Regions from separate parts of the Homo sapiens genome. Here all the other regions are linked to region 2. Evidence: promoter capture Hi-C in 16 types of primary human blood cells and fetal thymus (Javierre and others, 2016). All regions are on one chromosome and are shown on one strand. Each heading gives the region's core, a stretch centred on a gene start or on the middle of the fragment in contact. The rest is flanking DNA. Distances are from core to core; before and after follow the strand shown. Region 1 holds the start of GCC2 (GRIP and coiled-coil domain containing 2). Region 2 holds the start of ACTR3 (actin related protein 3). Region 3 holds the start of CCDC138 (coiled-coil domain containing 138). Region 4 overlaps LIMS1 (LIM zinc finger domain containing 1).

Region 1 (3,285 bases), core at 316-2,815, 5.4 Mb before region 2:
CCCTACCTGTAGCTGCAACTCATGGACCCTGTTACCCAGCCAAGTGCAATGGAGGGCTGGCGAGGGAAGAAAGATCAAAGGAAGAAAAGAAAGGTTCTTTTTTATTTCAAGTATGAGAAAAAGAGAGTTCTACTGTGAGAACATCAACTCTTCTGTAGCTATTGATGTAGCCAAACTCCTGGAATGTAACTATATCTAACAGTGTTTCTCTGAGAAACTTTTACAGGATTGGAATGTGTGTAGTATCTAGTTAACCTGCTATTTTATTGCAAGTGATTTTTTCAAGTTATTAATTGAAATAGGAGTCTACCGTAAGTTGCTCTTAACTTGGGGAACTACTTTGAATGGCATTAATCTGGACCATTAATAACAATGTATACTTGGGGATTGTGTGTGTGTGTGTGTATACATGTGTGTGCATATATGTGTGTACACACACGTGCACACACACGTGCGCGCACACGTGCACACACACACGTGCACACACACACGTGTACACACACACGTGTACACACACACGTGTGTTACTGTACGTGGAGACTGTACATCTTAGGTCACACACCACCCCTGAACCAATCCTACAAACACCATAGGTGATACACACTGTCAAAGACAAAGAGTAGATGTCCACAATAGCTGTTCTTTCTCGTTTATAACACTTCTTTTACCTAGTAATAATCAGCTACCATTTACTCGATACATACTGTGTGCTGCCTCTTCAACCTTTTGACCATTTAAACTACAGGAAACTAGGTTATCTTCAGGTTACCTTAGTTATGGGAGTGTATGGAAAACATTAATGGGAAGGTGAAAGCGCAGCAAACCACTTCAGCAGTTAACAGAAAGGCTCTCAGAGCACTGGACCGCCAATCAGGACACAGCAGCAGCTCTGGGATTCGACCACAGATTCTCTGGCGTGCCCTTCGGGAAAGGGTGGCCTCGGGCCCCCTACTCTACAGAGTCTCCTCCCACGGCTGCCCAGTTCCCTGGCCGACTATCTTGCCTCCACCACATCACCATCAGTACCGGGCGGCTGCAGGGCAGAGCTGTCCAGGGACCTCCTCACAGCCTCCAGAGTCAAGAAATGCCTCCTCAGGGAAGCCCTCTACCGCATCCCTGACCTGTGAGTCACGGAGCTCCCGGGCACCATGCTGGCCACAAATGCCTAAGGAGCCCCCCGGAACCAGCTGTGGGTCCCGCAGGCACTCGCAGGCTAGCGGACACCTTTGGAGGACTGAGAGACCTGTCCTGCAATCCAATGTTCCTCACTCTCACAAGATTTTACAGACGTGGAAACCGAGGCCCGAGGCCCCAAGGGGTAATCGGCCCGCCTTCCCATGCCAATAACCGGCAGTGGCGGGACCCACACCTACTCCGTGACCTGCAGGCCCAGGGGTCGAGCCCCAGGTAGAACGTCTAGACGGACTCCGCCCTTAGCGCCGTACGGGGAACCTTCTCCCGGACGCAGACACGGAAGCGGAAGTGCTGCCGAGCTGTAGCTATGGAGACGTGGGGGGCGGGCCGCCCGGAGAGCGCGACCTTTGACCTGCAGTAGAGCCTACGTCAGAGGCTGGCGCAAACAGAAGTGCAGCGGTGGCGGCGGCTGGTTGCGGGCCGGCGGCGGGCTGGCGGAGATGGAGGTAACTCAGGTCGGGCCCACTGCCTCCCATCAAGCCTTCCGCGCCGCGATTTGGGATGTGGGAGTGGGCCCGATGGGAGGGCGCGGTAGTCTCCCTCTTGGTGTCCCGAAGCCCGCGCTGCTGTCGCCTCCCCATCTTTCGTAAACTCTATCCCTGGGGGTTACCTGCCCCGTAGAGCCCGTTTGTGTACGAATTGCCACAGCGACCGCCTCCGTCCGCCCTCATTCTCTGTCTCACGAGGCTTTCCACCACTTGATTCCATAGAAGGTTTTTCCCTGTAAGGGTTCTACGCGTTCCGTGTGGAATTAGGAAAAGAGTTCTTCTGACACCTGGGTTTGATTTTGTTTTGCAGGATCTTGTTCAAGATGGGGTGGCTTCACCAGCTACCCCTGGGACCGGGAAATCTAAGGTGAAGAGAATACTTGAATAGCGGGCTTCCTGAAGAGTGGAAGGGTGATGAATTGGAAAACTTTGGCATGGGGAAGGGGGGGGCGCTGATTTTTTTTTTTTTAATAGCCTTGCTCCAAGGGATCTCAATTTTAGTGTGCGCAATCGCCCATTTCCTGTTTCTCCCCCGCCCACCCCGATATAGAAAGACTTTTTGTTTGCTTCCTGCTCCTGGTTAGCACTGCTGGGAGATCCTGCTATTTTTCGAACATAAAGCAGTCTAAGAAGGTTTATATAGTGGTGTAGTGGAAGGAGCAGTGACATAGGGTAGGAATCAAGGGATTCTGATCTGTGGGCTCCAGTTTCTACATTGCCAAAGAGTTTAATTAGTCCAGTTTTATGGCCCTGTACAATGTTTAACATTCAATCATTCTAAATGATAGTGGTTTATTGCTAAGGTTTATTGTGTGCATGCTAAATTTCTGGCGCTTGCCTAACCACTCAGTTCCTTCGTTTAAGCTTCATGATAACCATGAGATAGGTACTGTTGTTACCCTCCTTTTACAGATGAGAAACCTGAGACCACAGGCTTAAGCAATTTTCTCAAGTGGTAAAGCTCAATTTTTTAATTAAAGCCTGAATGTTACCCGGTTCATCTTGCTGCTGTAATTATGCGTAAATTTTCTTGTGACCAAAGACTTGCAGCCTTGAATAGAATGAAATAATTTTACAGCTCCAAGGAATTTTAAGTAGCATTAGCTCCAACCTACTGATTTTACAATTAAATCAAAAGCTAGCAATGTCAACCTGTAACATTAGCTATAAGAGGATATGGCCTGGTTTTTACGTTTCATAGTAGTTGCATAACTAATTTTTAGTAGTTGCATAGCAATTACAGAATTGACGTTGCATTTGCTGATTTTAAAAAATGTGGCCGGGCGCGGTGGGTCACGCCTGTAATCCCAACACTTTGGGAGGCCGAGGCGGGCAGATCACCTGCGGTCAGGAGTTTGAGACCAGCCTGGCCAACATGGTGAAACCCCGTCTCTACTAAAAATACAAAAATTAGCCGGACGTGGTAGCGGGCGCCTATGATCCCAGCTATTTGGGAGGCTGAGACAGGAGAATTGCTTGAACTTGGGAGGCAGAGGTTACAAGTGAGCCAAGATCGTGTCATGCACTCCGGCCTGGGCAATAGAGCGAGACTCTGTCTCAAAAAAAAAATGTGGAACAAAGTATGCGGTTGGCATAAAGATTT
Region 2 (3,385 bases), core at 814-3,313:
ATGATGATGCCCTTTAGTGAGTCTCCTCTGCACATACCTGATTCCATTTGGATGCTGGCCCTCACATACTTCTATCTGCGAACTCCGGAACACAGAATATCATACAATGTATGATTCAATCTGGACTCTGCTGGAGCCATTCTCTACAAAGCAGACACAACTTTTTCTTGCCTAAATCCTTTCAAGTTGCTTTATTTTTATTTTTAAACTAATTACCATAAATCTAATTTATCAAGCTGCTTTTAAGATAAACTTTAAAATGCTTAGAGCAGTCTACAAATTCTTGCACTGTTTCACTCTTCCTTATCTCTCAGTCTTCATCTCCCATTGCATCTTCTCTGACTCTTTCATATGGATCTTCTTTCAATTTGTGGAAGAAGCCAAGCTTGTTCCTGCCTCAGGTCCTTGACACTTGCTGTTCACTCTCCTGGGAGACTCTTCCCCCCATCTTAGCTTTTAAATACCAGCTGGTCAGACTCCTTACCTGCCTTCCACCTTCCTCTCATTCTCCCACTCCTCGCCTTCATTTCTCAGAGTCCTCCGCTCTCTTCTTTCTATTGCTCTTAACACAATTTGTCTGTTTTCCGCTAATCTGTAAACTCTACAAGAGCACTTAACTATTTTGCATCCCACCGAATATTCGGAGTCAGCACAGACCCCGTCATAATAGAGTAGGTAAGCAATGCTTACCTGTCAAATGAATGAATGAAACACCCGATTCATCCCCCAAGCCAGCTTAATACATTAGATGATCTTATGGACTGAATAAGACATCCCTCCTTTTAAAGAATATTTTTGTTTTAGCTTCACATCAGCAAACCCCGAACGGTTCATCCTAAGATAAGCCTGGTAGAGAGGAAAGATACTAACCTTCTAGGGTCCTAAAGTGGAACTAGGAACTTATTAGATATGCACATTCTCAGGCATTATTTCCGATAGCCCAGTCAGAGAATTCTGGGGGTATGGCCCAGCAATCTGTTTTAACAAACCTTTCAGGTAATTCTGATACACACTAAAGTTTGAAAGGTTTCTTTAAGGCTTTCCAGTTTTCTTTTCTTTTTTGGAGGGATGGGGGGGGGTCTCCCCATGTTGCCCAGGCTGGTCTCGAACTCCTAGCCTCAAGCTATCCTATCCTCCCACCTCGGCCTTCCAAAGCATTGAAATTACAGGCATGACCCACTGCGGCTCGCCTCCGTTTCTAACTTAAAAAAATTTTCTTTGGAGGGGAGCCTTAATCCTTTCTATTATCCTGCTAGTAGAATCTTACTACTCCTGAGGGTAATCTTTGTCATAATCCAAAAGCCTTGAATAAAGGCCTATTTGTATAGTTATGCAGAATATATTCCTGGGAGGTTTGCCTTCCTAGGAGCACAGGTCGGCCCTGGGAGGTGGGGGTTGGGGGGCAGGGCTGCATTCTAAAGTCCTGTAACAACGCACAAGTACAACTGAATAGAACTCGGAACAAAGGCATCAGGGCCACGGTGCAAGTCTTTGTTCATCCGTTCCCCGACTGCTCACCCTGTCTGATACCGCTCTTTTCCACCCAGAAAAGCAGCCACTCAAGTTTTAAGAATGGATGTATGCCGCGGACGTTTTCGATTAGGCCGTTTTCTCTCAGGCACTGGAGGATATTCGTGGCTGCAGGAGGCGCTTCCACCCTTTCCTCAACCTAGCAAAGAAGTAACTGAAACTAACCCAAGGGTTACAACCGAAAAGCCCCTTCCAGCTTCAGAAGCAGAACTGGAAGCTCGGATAGACTTCTCCGCCTCTACACTCCTGGAAAACCCGCAGTGGATTTCACCAACTTCAGGATCGGAGCCCAGGCAGGCGAACGTACCTTATTGCGCATGCTCGCTAGCCCCTCCCGCTCGGAGCGGAAGGGGGAGCGCTGGGGGCCTGGGCCTGGCCTGGCCGGGGCGTCGGCACCGGCGGCCATCTTGGCTTCCCGGGGAAAGGCGGCGTGAGGGGAAGAAGTTGTAGGGTGGGGGCAGGAGTGAGGAGGAGGGAAGAGAGAGGGGGAGGAGGCCGCGGCGGGGCAGGGCGGGGACTGCCTGCCTGCCTGGGTTGCGGAAGTGATAGCCGCCGACCGAGCCTGCTGCTTTCTTGCTACTGCTTCGGCTTCCCGGCTACCCCCCGGACGGTGAAGGCGGCCCAGCTGTGGATGGTCAGATAGCCCTTGTCTCCCGCCGCCAATCTCTGGCCCCTAGCAGCACGGAGCAGACGGCGGCAGCAGCAGCAGCAGGCGAGGAGGAAGATGGCGGGACGGCTGCCGGCCTGTGTGGTGGACTGTGGCACGGGGTAAGGGGGCTTACGGGCGGGGGTGGGGAAACTGAGGCGGAGGAAGGAAGATGGCGGGGGAGGGAGGAGGCCGGGAAATGAATGGTGCGGCGAGGTGCCGCCGCCGGCTGTCAGTCCTAGACCCGCCGGCCAGCGAGGGGTGGGGCCCGCAGCCAGGGCCTCGCGGGTCCCCTCGTTTCTCCCTCCTGGGACTGGGGCGGGGGCGCGGGCCCGAGATTCAACCCCCAACCCTCCCAGCGGCTTTCTCCGCGCGACCCCTCCCGGCCCTTCCCCCACTACGGTGGGCAGCGCCGCCCAAAGGGCGCTGGGGACGGTCGTCTTGGGGGTGGTCCCCGGGCCCGACCCATCCGGCTTTCCTTTCCCTCCGCGCCCGTTTTTGCCAGTCGGTTTGGGGACCCAGGGGCCGAGCTCGGGGACTGGCCTGGCAGGGGAGCTAGAAAAGAGAAGCGCTCCTGGTAGGTTTGACAAGATCGCTGTGACAACATTCTGCCCAGGGTGTGGGTGGGGAAAGGGAAGAATCGGACTCTGAAAATGGGAACCTACAGTGGGGCTTTCATTTGACCACCCACCTTCTCCTTTCGACTCCTGGTCATTTCCATCTCCCTCTGCGTTTTAACCGGTGAACCAAGTCACATTTTAATTCGAGGGAGAAAGATGTCATGTGTTACTTCTGTAGCCTCAAAAAAGTCCCCCAGTGAGCAAGCGCGCTGCAACTTCCTTAGTTTTGTCAAAGCCGCTTCCTGCTTTCAGTCTTTTATACCCTTATAAGGTAGTTTTTAGTTTCCAACCTGAGCACATCTTACTAGAACTTTTAAGCAGGTTTTAAAGAGACTGAATTACCGGTGCTTGGTGTCCATTTATATGACTTAAAAAAATGTACTTATGTTTCATGGAGTGGGGGAAAGGAAGCACCCTGGAAAATAAACTAATTTAAGTTGTATTCGTTCATTCTGTGATGGTATCTTGAAGGAAGCAGGAAGGTATAGAGGTATATAGGAGGGTGTTTAAGTTGCAAATAGTTACTCGTAGATATGTAGGGTAGTTTGCGAAAATGTAGAGTGGCTTTAAAGTGTGGTCGTTCATTTTG
Region 3 (3,584 bases), core at 1,085-3,584, 5.1 Mb before region 2:
TAACATGTAGTGATGAGTTCTGTGTGTATTTTAATATTTTACTCAGGATTCCTATTAATTGAAAAAAATTTTTAACTTTTTTATTATAAATCTTTTTTTCAGGGAGGAGATATCACCAAACATGATGGAACAGGCGGACAGTCCATTTATGGAGACAAATTTGAAGATGAAAATTTTGATGTGAAACATACTGGTCCTGGTTTACTATCCATGGCCAATCAAGGCCAGAATACCAATAATTCTCAATTTGTTATAACACTGAAGAAAGCAGAACATTTGGACTTTAAGCATGTAGTATTTGGGTTTGTTAAGGATGGCATGGATACTGTGAAAAAGATTGAATCATTTGGTTCTCCCAAAGGGTCTGTTTGTCGAAGAATAACTATCACAGAATGTGGACAGATATAAAATCATTGTTGTTCATAGAAAATTTCATCTGTATAAGCAGTTGGATTGAAGCTTAGCTATTACAATTTGATAGTTATGTTCAGCTTTTGAAAATGGACGTTTCCGATTTACAAATGTAAAATTGCAGCTTATAGCTGTTGTCACTTTTTAATGTGTTATAATTGACCTTGCATGGTGTGAAATAAAAGTTTAAACACTGGTGTATTTCAGGTGTACTTGTGTTTATGTACTCCTGACGTATTAAAATGGAATAATACTAATCTTGTTAAAAGCAATAGACCTCAAACTATTGAAGGAATATGATATATGCAATTTAATTTTAATTCCTTTTAAGATATTTGGACTTCCTGCATGGATATACTTACCATTTGAATAAAGGGACCACAACTTGGATAATTTAATTTTAGGTTTGAAATATATTTGGTAATCTTAACTATTGGTGTACTCATTTATGCATAGAGACTCGTTTATGAATGGGTAGAGCCACAGAACGTATAGAGTTAACCAAAGTGCTCTTCTCTAGAATCTTTACACCTCCTGTGTGGTTACAAGTTAACTTTGTAAGTAGCGTACCTTCCTTCCTTAAAATATCTAGCTTCCTGTGCCCTTTCATAGATATTCGATTAATTTTTACATTTTAAACAAGTTGACTATTTCCTTTAGGGGTTTTGTTTCAAACTTTTCTGTCATCTGTCTCTACTACCTCAGAAACTGCAGCTTGGTTCTGATGATAGAAATTGAATTTTTCCTTGTAGTTATTGTGATAAAGTATGAATATTTTTAGAAAGTCTATACCATGTTCTTTCGTTAAAGATTTGCTTTATACAAGATTGTTGCAGTACCTTTTTCTGGTAAATTTTGTAGCAGAAATAAAATGACAATTCCTAAGAGCCACTGACATCCAAAAAATTCATTACTTACGCTTCGGGTTCATTCTAAAGTAAGGAAGACAATTTAAAGGCAGTAAATTCAAACTGCTGCATAATTTCCAGAGCTCCTAGTTTCTCAAGTTTGATACACACCAAAAACGTATTTGGAAATGGCTTGTATCAAATGTTAGGCAAATTGCTAAAGAAAAGAGGATGTTCTTATTGGCCTACTCAATATGGAACTACAAAGAATCCAGGTAGAACACAAAATTTTGTATATTGCAATTATGAATATTGACTGTCTTCCACCCATCTGTGTTCTTTCGGGTGAAATTACCTCATTTTATTTAGTGAGGAAAGACAGGTTTATTCCCTGTTACATGGGGATTTGGAAATTGGGTATCCTAAAGCAAGTAACTGTTCAACCACCAGTCAAAAGAGGGGAGGGATGTTGTGCGAGTAATGAGTGATGGTATACCATCACCATTCCACTCGGCCACAAAGCCAGATACTTGAAATAAACCTACTCCAAATGTATCAGTTCAGTCTTGAACCATGGATTACATATGTTTACACTAAATATTTCAAATTGGCTTATTTGGAAATCTATGTAATATAAACTGATGTAAAGTGTGTTGTAACTTTTCAGCTGAGACAGTTGATGCCTTCGTCATGATTTTAGAATAAATTCTTAAGTTAATGCAAGTGCTTTTTAAGAGACTTTTTACAGATTTGTATGCTTTCCTAAAGCACTAAAGTTACAAATTAAAAAGCTTTAAAAACTTTGACCAAAAATTTGACAAAATGACATGTAAACTGACTTTTCCCGTATTAGTATTCCAAAGATGCTTAAAAGTGGCTTGTGGCATTTATGAGAAAGTCTTTGTGTCACATTTCAGGAAAGGACTTTGATTTCTCTTTGTTATTTAATCACTGATGTGGTCTAAACCCACGATAATATGTATCTTTCCTTTTAAACTGGATTTTATGTTGTCTCATTAAAATCTGCTTAAAGATAGAATAAAATTCATTATTTGTACATCTTAAGTGGTACTTTATGGCAAAAAGTATGGCCTAAGTAATTTTCAGATAATAACTGCTGAAGTACAGATTTTATAAAACTTGGGCATTTGGGAACTTTAATCCAGAGAATTTAGGAGTTGTTAGTCCAGAGATGCAGCTGACAGTCACAATTTAGAAAGTAAAAGATTACACCACTGTAATTTTATGAATGAGAAAAATGAAGTGGTTGTACAGTTCCCCTCAGTCAGTTTTGTTTAACATAGGTTTTCAGGTTGATGTATACTATGTACTATGGTTAGCACTGTTGTAGGTATTGGCAAAAGCTTTTTTCTTTTCAAAAAAAAAAAGTTTTTTTTCCAGGGTGCTTACATTCTAACTATTCTTTTTAATACCCTGTTATACCCCATATGGAACACAGGGAAAGTGAGGTAATCTGCAATGTCTATGCTCAGCTTTCCCTTTTTTTTTTTTTTTTTAACTTTAAGAGATGGGAGTCTTGCTATGTTACCCAAGATAGATGTAACTCTCAGGCTCAAAGCAATGCTCCCGCCTCAGCCTCCTTAGCAGCCGGGACTACACGCGCGCCACCACTCCCGGCTCAGATATACTCTTGGTTTTTCTTTTATATGGCAGTTAGCAAAGGTCACTTCTGATGGAACGACCGGTCTATGTGGTGAGCGCAACGCACACCAAACTTAACAGGTTAAATGGAGCTGGAGCGGAGCGCTGCAGGCAGGTGCGGGGCCTCGGTGCCCCTCAACCCGTGGCACCCAGGCAGCCGGGGCAGGACTATCGCGGGGAGATGCAATACTACTCAGTTACGAGGTGTGTAGTGCTAGCACGAGAAACTTGGAGGACGCGCTGACAAGCCGGGCTGCAGTCTCCGGGTCGCCCCGCCCCGCCCTTTCCCTGCCGCCGTGCGTGCCTCGGGGGGGCGGGGTCTGGCACGTCGTGACGCACTGCGGCCGCGTAGCGCCGCGGGTTTGATGAACGCGGTTCCCGGGGAGACTGGTACGGTTGCTGTGTGCTATGGAGCCGAGGGTCGTCAAGCCACCGGGGCAGGATTTAGTAGTGGAGAGTCTCAAAAGCCGCTACGGACTCGGGGGCAGCTGCCCCGACGAGGTGAAGCCGCCGCCTGAGGTCCGCGGGTGGGCTCCTGCTGCTGGGGGGCGGCCCGCTCCGTGCCCCGCGCAGCCGGCCTGGGGGCGCGCAGCGGCTCTGGTCCCGGCCCCGGCACTCCCGCCGTGGCTGCGGCTTGGGCCTCGTGGAAGCAGGCGGGAGGGG
Region 4 (3,235 bases), core at 5-2,504, 5.3 Mb before region 2:
AAGTGATTTCAATACATATATATGTATCTAGTTTTAAGTCAAATTATGGGAAAATCTGGATTTGTGGAAAGCTCTCATTTGTGAAGAGTACCACTAGAATTCCTTTTAAAAATAAGTTCATTTAGGGAAAGAAAAATTATTCTATGTGCTAAAGTTTTAGCTTTATATGTAGTTTTCCAGAAGCAAGTTTACTACATTGAGTGAGATACCCTCTATTTTGCCCTCAGGGAGGAAAAGTGCAGTCCTGCTGCAAGCTTCTGTCTGTGTTCCTTCCCTGAAAGGTCAGCGCTCTGTTGAGGAGGACCCTCTGTTCTCTTTGGGTCGGGTGGGGGGTATGGTGGGGCTAGGGTGATCAGCATGCCTTTTTGTGGTCCTTATCTACTCTAGAGCTCTTATCCTCAAGCAGCTTTGTGACCAAAGAAAAGGTGTTCATGGAGAAGGATCTGGGGAGCCCAGAGGCTGTTCAGGGTTCTCCTCCACACCCCAAAGGCCTGGCACACTGATGCCTTTGGGAAATTGCTGAATGTGCAGAGCCTGCCCATGTGTACCTGCTTTATTCAGGAATGAGATTTCTGACTATATGAAGAAGGAGAAAAGTGTGCTTAGTCAGGGAGTCATGTTGCACAGGTCCTGTCTGAAAACCAAGTAATGTTAGCCTGCAGAGAAGACCATGGAGGTCACCTAATTCAGCCACTTCTGATTCAAGTGGAACAATGGAGGACTGTGATAGTTAAATGACTTCCTGTGTACTTATAAGGTAGTCACAGCAAGGGAGTTTCCAAACGTGGAACTGTCAGCTAAATGTCTACTGGTCACCTCTTGTATCCTTCCACTAACCTACCTTGTACTCTCCCTTGGCCCCTTGAAAACGTGGGATTGGATAGGTTACTTAGAATTTCATTCTAAATTATTTGGAAATATACCTGGAAAATTTGCATATTGTATCAGTGGCTTTTGAGAACATTTGATAATGGTCTAAATTGAAGACTGTTGATGGCCCCATGTTGCTGGTTGTGGAAGAGGCTGCTGTATGAGAATGACACAGGCAAGTTTGCATGGGCTTTTTTTTTTTTTTTTTTTTTTTTGGATATAGGGGTCTTACTCTGTCACCCAGGCTGGAGTGCAGTGGTGTGACCATAGCTCACTGCAGCCTCGACCTTCCAGGCTCAAGTGATCATGATCCCCCCATCTCAGTCTCCCTCGTAGTTGGGACTACAGGCACTCGCCACCACGCCCAGCTAATTTTGTATTACTTGCAAAGATAAGGTCTCACTGTGTTGCCCAGGCTGGTCTCAAACTCCTGGGCTCAAGCTGTCTGTTCACCTCGGCCTCCCACATTGCTGGGATCCCAGGCGTGAGCCACCACACTGGCCTCACATGAGCTTTAATGACAGCTCAGCCTGTCCAGTCAGATGTGTCAGAGGTCCAGGAAGCCTGATTAAGGAGAAAGTTCAGAGGGGCTTGTAGACAGTTGCAATATTATCTGCTTGTGAGTGGGACCATATTTTCATGATTTTTTTTTTCCACACAGTGAACAGTTTTTGTGGACAGATGCTTCTGCCTTCTCATACTCTCTGCTCCAGTTAGCTTGACCTTGAGCCTACTCGCAATGGTACATCGTTGAACCCTTTTCTGCAGCAGATATATAGCCCTGTTCTTCCTTCAAATTTATAGCCTAGAGCAGTCTTGAGAGGCCTCACTTAGGAAGACAGCTTGGCTGGCAAATAAATGTTTGCCAGATGAATGTGTGTTGGACATAGTATGGAGGGATATTCTTGCTTTATTAGATAAAATTTGATTTTCCCTGTAAATGATTATTTATGAGATAAAACATAAACTAAAAATGATTCATTTCCATCAAGTGCAAAGTTAGCTGCAAAACATAACATTCTTCCTTTATGTCACACAGGGAAATTAATGGCCTGGAAATGTACAGCTGCTCAACCAGTTTACGAGCCATTAGTACCTAGTGTACTGGCAGTGAGCCCCAGTTAGCCATGGAAACCAGCTTGCAGCTTTCTTAACTCTGTATAGGAGAAATAATTGATGATTCAGTAACATTAATGATCATATTTACAGCTTGATGTTTAATTAGGTTTCTTTACCCTCTTATATCTGAAGGGGTTAATTGCAACAGGATGCTAAAAGCTGGACTATGACAAGTTTAGGCAAAAATCCAGGCTAATTTTTTATTCTTATCACAAATGGAAAATGTTTATACTTGTGGAAGGTACTGTTCAACTCCACAAATATGAAAGCTTCAGAGTTTTAGTCTCACCAAGAAAGTAAATTTTTCCAATACTGTAGAAGAAGTGTGTCTTTTAAAATCTCATTTAGGTAACATTGAGTGTTACATGCAGAAATGAAAAAGCTTCAAAACTCTGGAGATTTCTTCTCAAACATGACATTGTAAAATGATTAGGCTCTCAAAATTAATTGGTTGAACAACTAAAACATAAAGCTTGTTTAACAAACGTGACTGTCTTCCATGTCCCTGGCCCTATAGATGCAGCGGTAAGTGGGATATGGGGTTTAGAAAGGTTTCTCGGAAGAGATGATCCTTGTAGTGAGTCTTAGTGGGATGATCAGGAGCTAGTCCTGCCAGTGATCCTTCTTCCAGTCTTACCAAGCCATATGTGCAAAGGCTAGAAAGTGAGAGGAAGCACAGTCTGTCTGGGAAACTCCTGGAGTCCAGTCCTCTCAGCTGGGATGGGGGTGTGAGATCTGCTGGAGTCAAAGTACAGATTCAAGGAGAACCCAGCAGTTTGGAAAAAAGGACAGAAAGTTGTAATTAGGGCCAGACCAATTGTTAAGGCAAATGTCTTATTCCCAGTTTTTGTGAACTGTTGTTCCTCAAGAACCACTGGGCATGTGGGGGAAAGCCCCAGGAGTTTTATGAGGTAGTAATTTCCCCATCACTGCAAGTGTCCATGAAGAGACAAACTCCCAGGTCATAGATATTGTATAGGGATGAGGCCATGGGGAAAATGACGGTGGGGAATTCTGCATTGAATGAGAGTCTGGACTGACCTTCAAAGATTTTTTTAGAGTGCTAAAATGAAAAATATCTCTATTTGGAAACCCGCAGAAAATGCATTTATACAGGCCTCCCTCTGTACTGTCAAAATCATGCTAAGACAGTTATTTGAAATTTGAAACCCTTTTAAATAGGGCCTGATCTGAGAATTCAGGCATAATTAATAATTCCATCTCCATGGGAAAGTACATTTGAAAG

The links. Contacts are between HindIII fragments. The CHiCAGO score rates a contact against its expected background, and 5 or more counts as called.
Region 1: the fragment with the promoter of GCC2 here is called in contact with the fragment with the promoter of ACTR3 in region 2 in 2 of 17 cell types (naive CD8 T cells and fetal thymus); the score reaches 12.0 in naive CD8 T cells.
Region 3: a fragment that was not itself captured here is called in contact with the fragment with the promoter of ACTR3 in region 2 in 1 of 17 cell types (fetal thymus); the score reaches 5.2 in fetal thymus.
Region 4: a contact is called between a fragment that was not itself captured here and the fragment with the promoter of ACTR3 in region 2, in 2 of 17 cell types (activated CD4 T cells and M0 macrophages). The highest score is 5.9, in activated CD4 T cells.

The regions. Positions count from the first base shown.
Region 1 is chr2:108,447,641-108,450,925 of GRCh38, forward strand. It overlaps GCC2 (GRIP and coiled-coil domain containing 2), which reads left to right and starts at 1,566. Exons shown (of 23, transcript NM_181453.4): 1 at 1,566-1,640; 2 at 1,993-2,049. The coding sequence starts at 1,635. RefSeq lists enhancers at 506-1,488, 1,393-1,652, 1,489-2,470, 2,556-3,056, 3,057-3,285. The HindIII fragment of the contact is 5,578 bases long and covers 1-2,544 here.
Region 2 is chr2:113,888,026-113,891,410 of GRCh38, forward strand. ACTR3 (actin related protein 3) reads left to right here and starts at 2,064. Exons shown (of 12, transcript NM_005721.5): 1 at 2,064-2,298. The coding sequence starts at 2,255. ACTR3-AS1 (ACTR3 antisense RNA 1) reads right to left here and starts at 2,967. Exons shown (of 5, transcript NR_110174.1): 1 at 2,868-2,967. LOC124906071 (a long non-coding RNA gene) reads right to left here and starts at 1,742. Exons shown (of 3, transcript XR_007087205.1): 1 at 38-1,742. RefSeq lists enhancers at 1,435-1,744, 1,865-1,954, 1,987-2,642, 2,725-2,774, 2,825-3,004 and silencers at 2,035-2,094, 2,335-2,594. The HindIII fragment of the contact is 5,488 bases long and covers 384-3,385 here.
Region 3 is chr2:108,783,494-108,787,077 of GRCh38, forward strand. It overlaps RANBP2 (RAN binding protein 2), which reads left to right. Exons shown (of 29, transcript NM_006267.5): 29 at 103-2,316. The coding sequence ends at 408. It overlaps CCDC138 (coiled-coil domain containing 138), which reads left to right and starts at 3,278. Exons shown (of 15, transcript NM_144978.3): 1 at 3,278-3,422. The coding sequence starts at 3,330. RefSeq lists a silencer at 3,087-3,584. The HindIII fragment of the contact is 573 bases long and covers 2,049-2,621 here.
Region 4 is chr2:108,615,137-108,618,371 of GRCh38, forward strand. The region is part of intron 1 of LIMS1 (LIM zinc finger domain containing 1); the gene reads left to right. Among named protein-coding and RNA genes, the nearest start is that of LIMS1-AS1, 62 kb to the right of the region's middle. The HindIII fragment of the contact is 2,004 bases long and covers 253-2,256 here.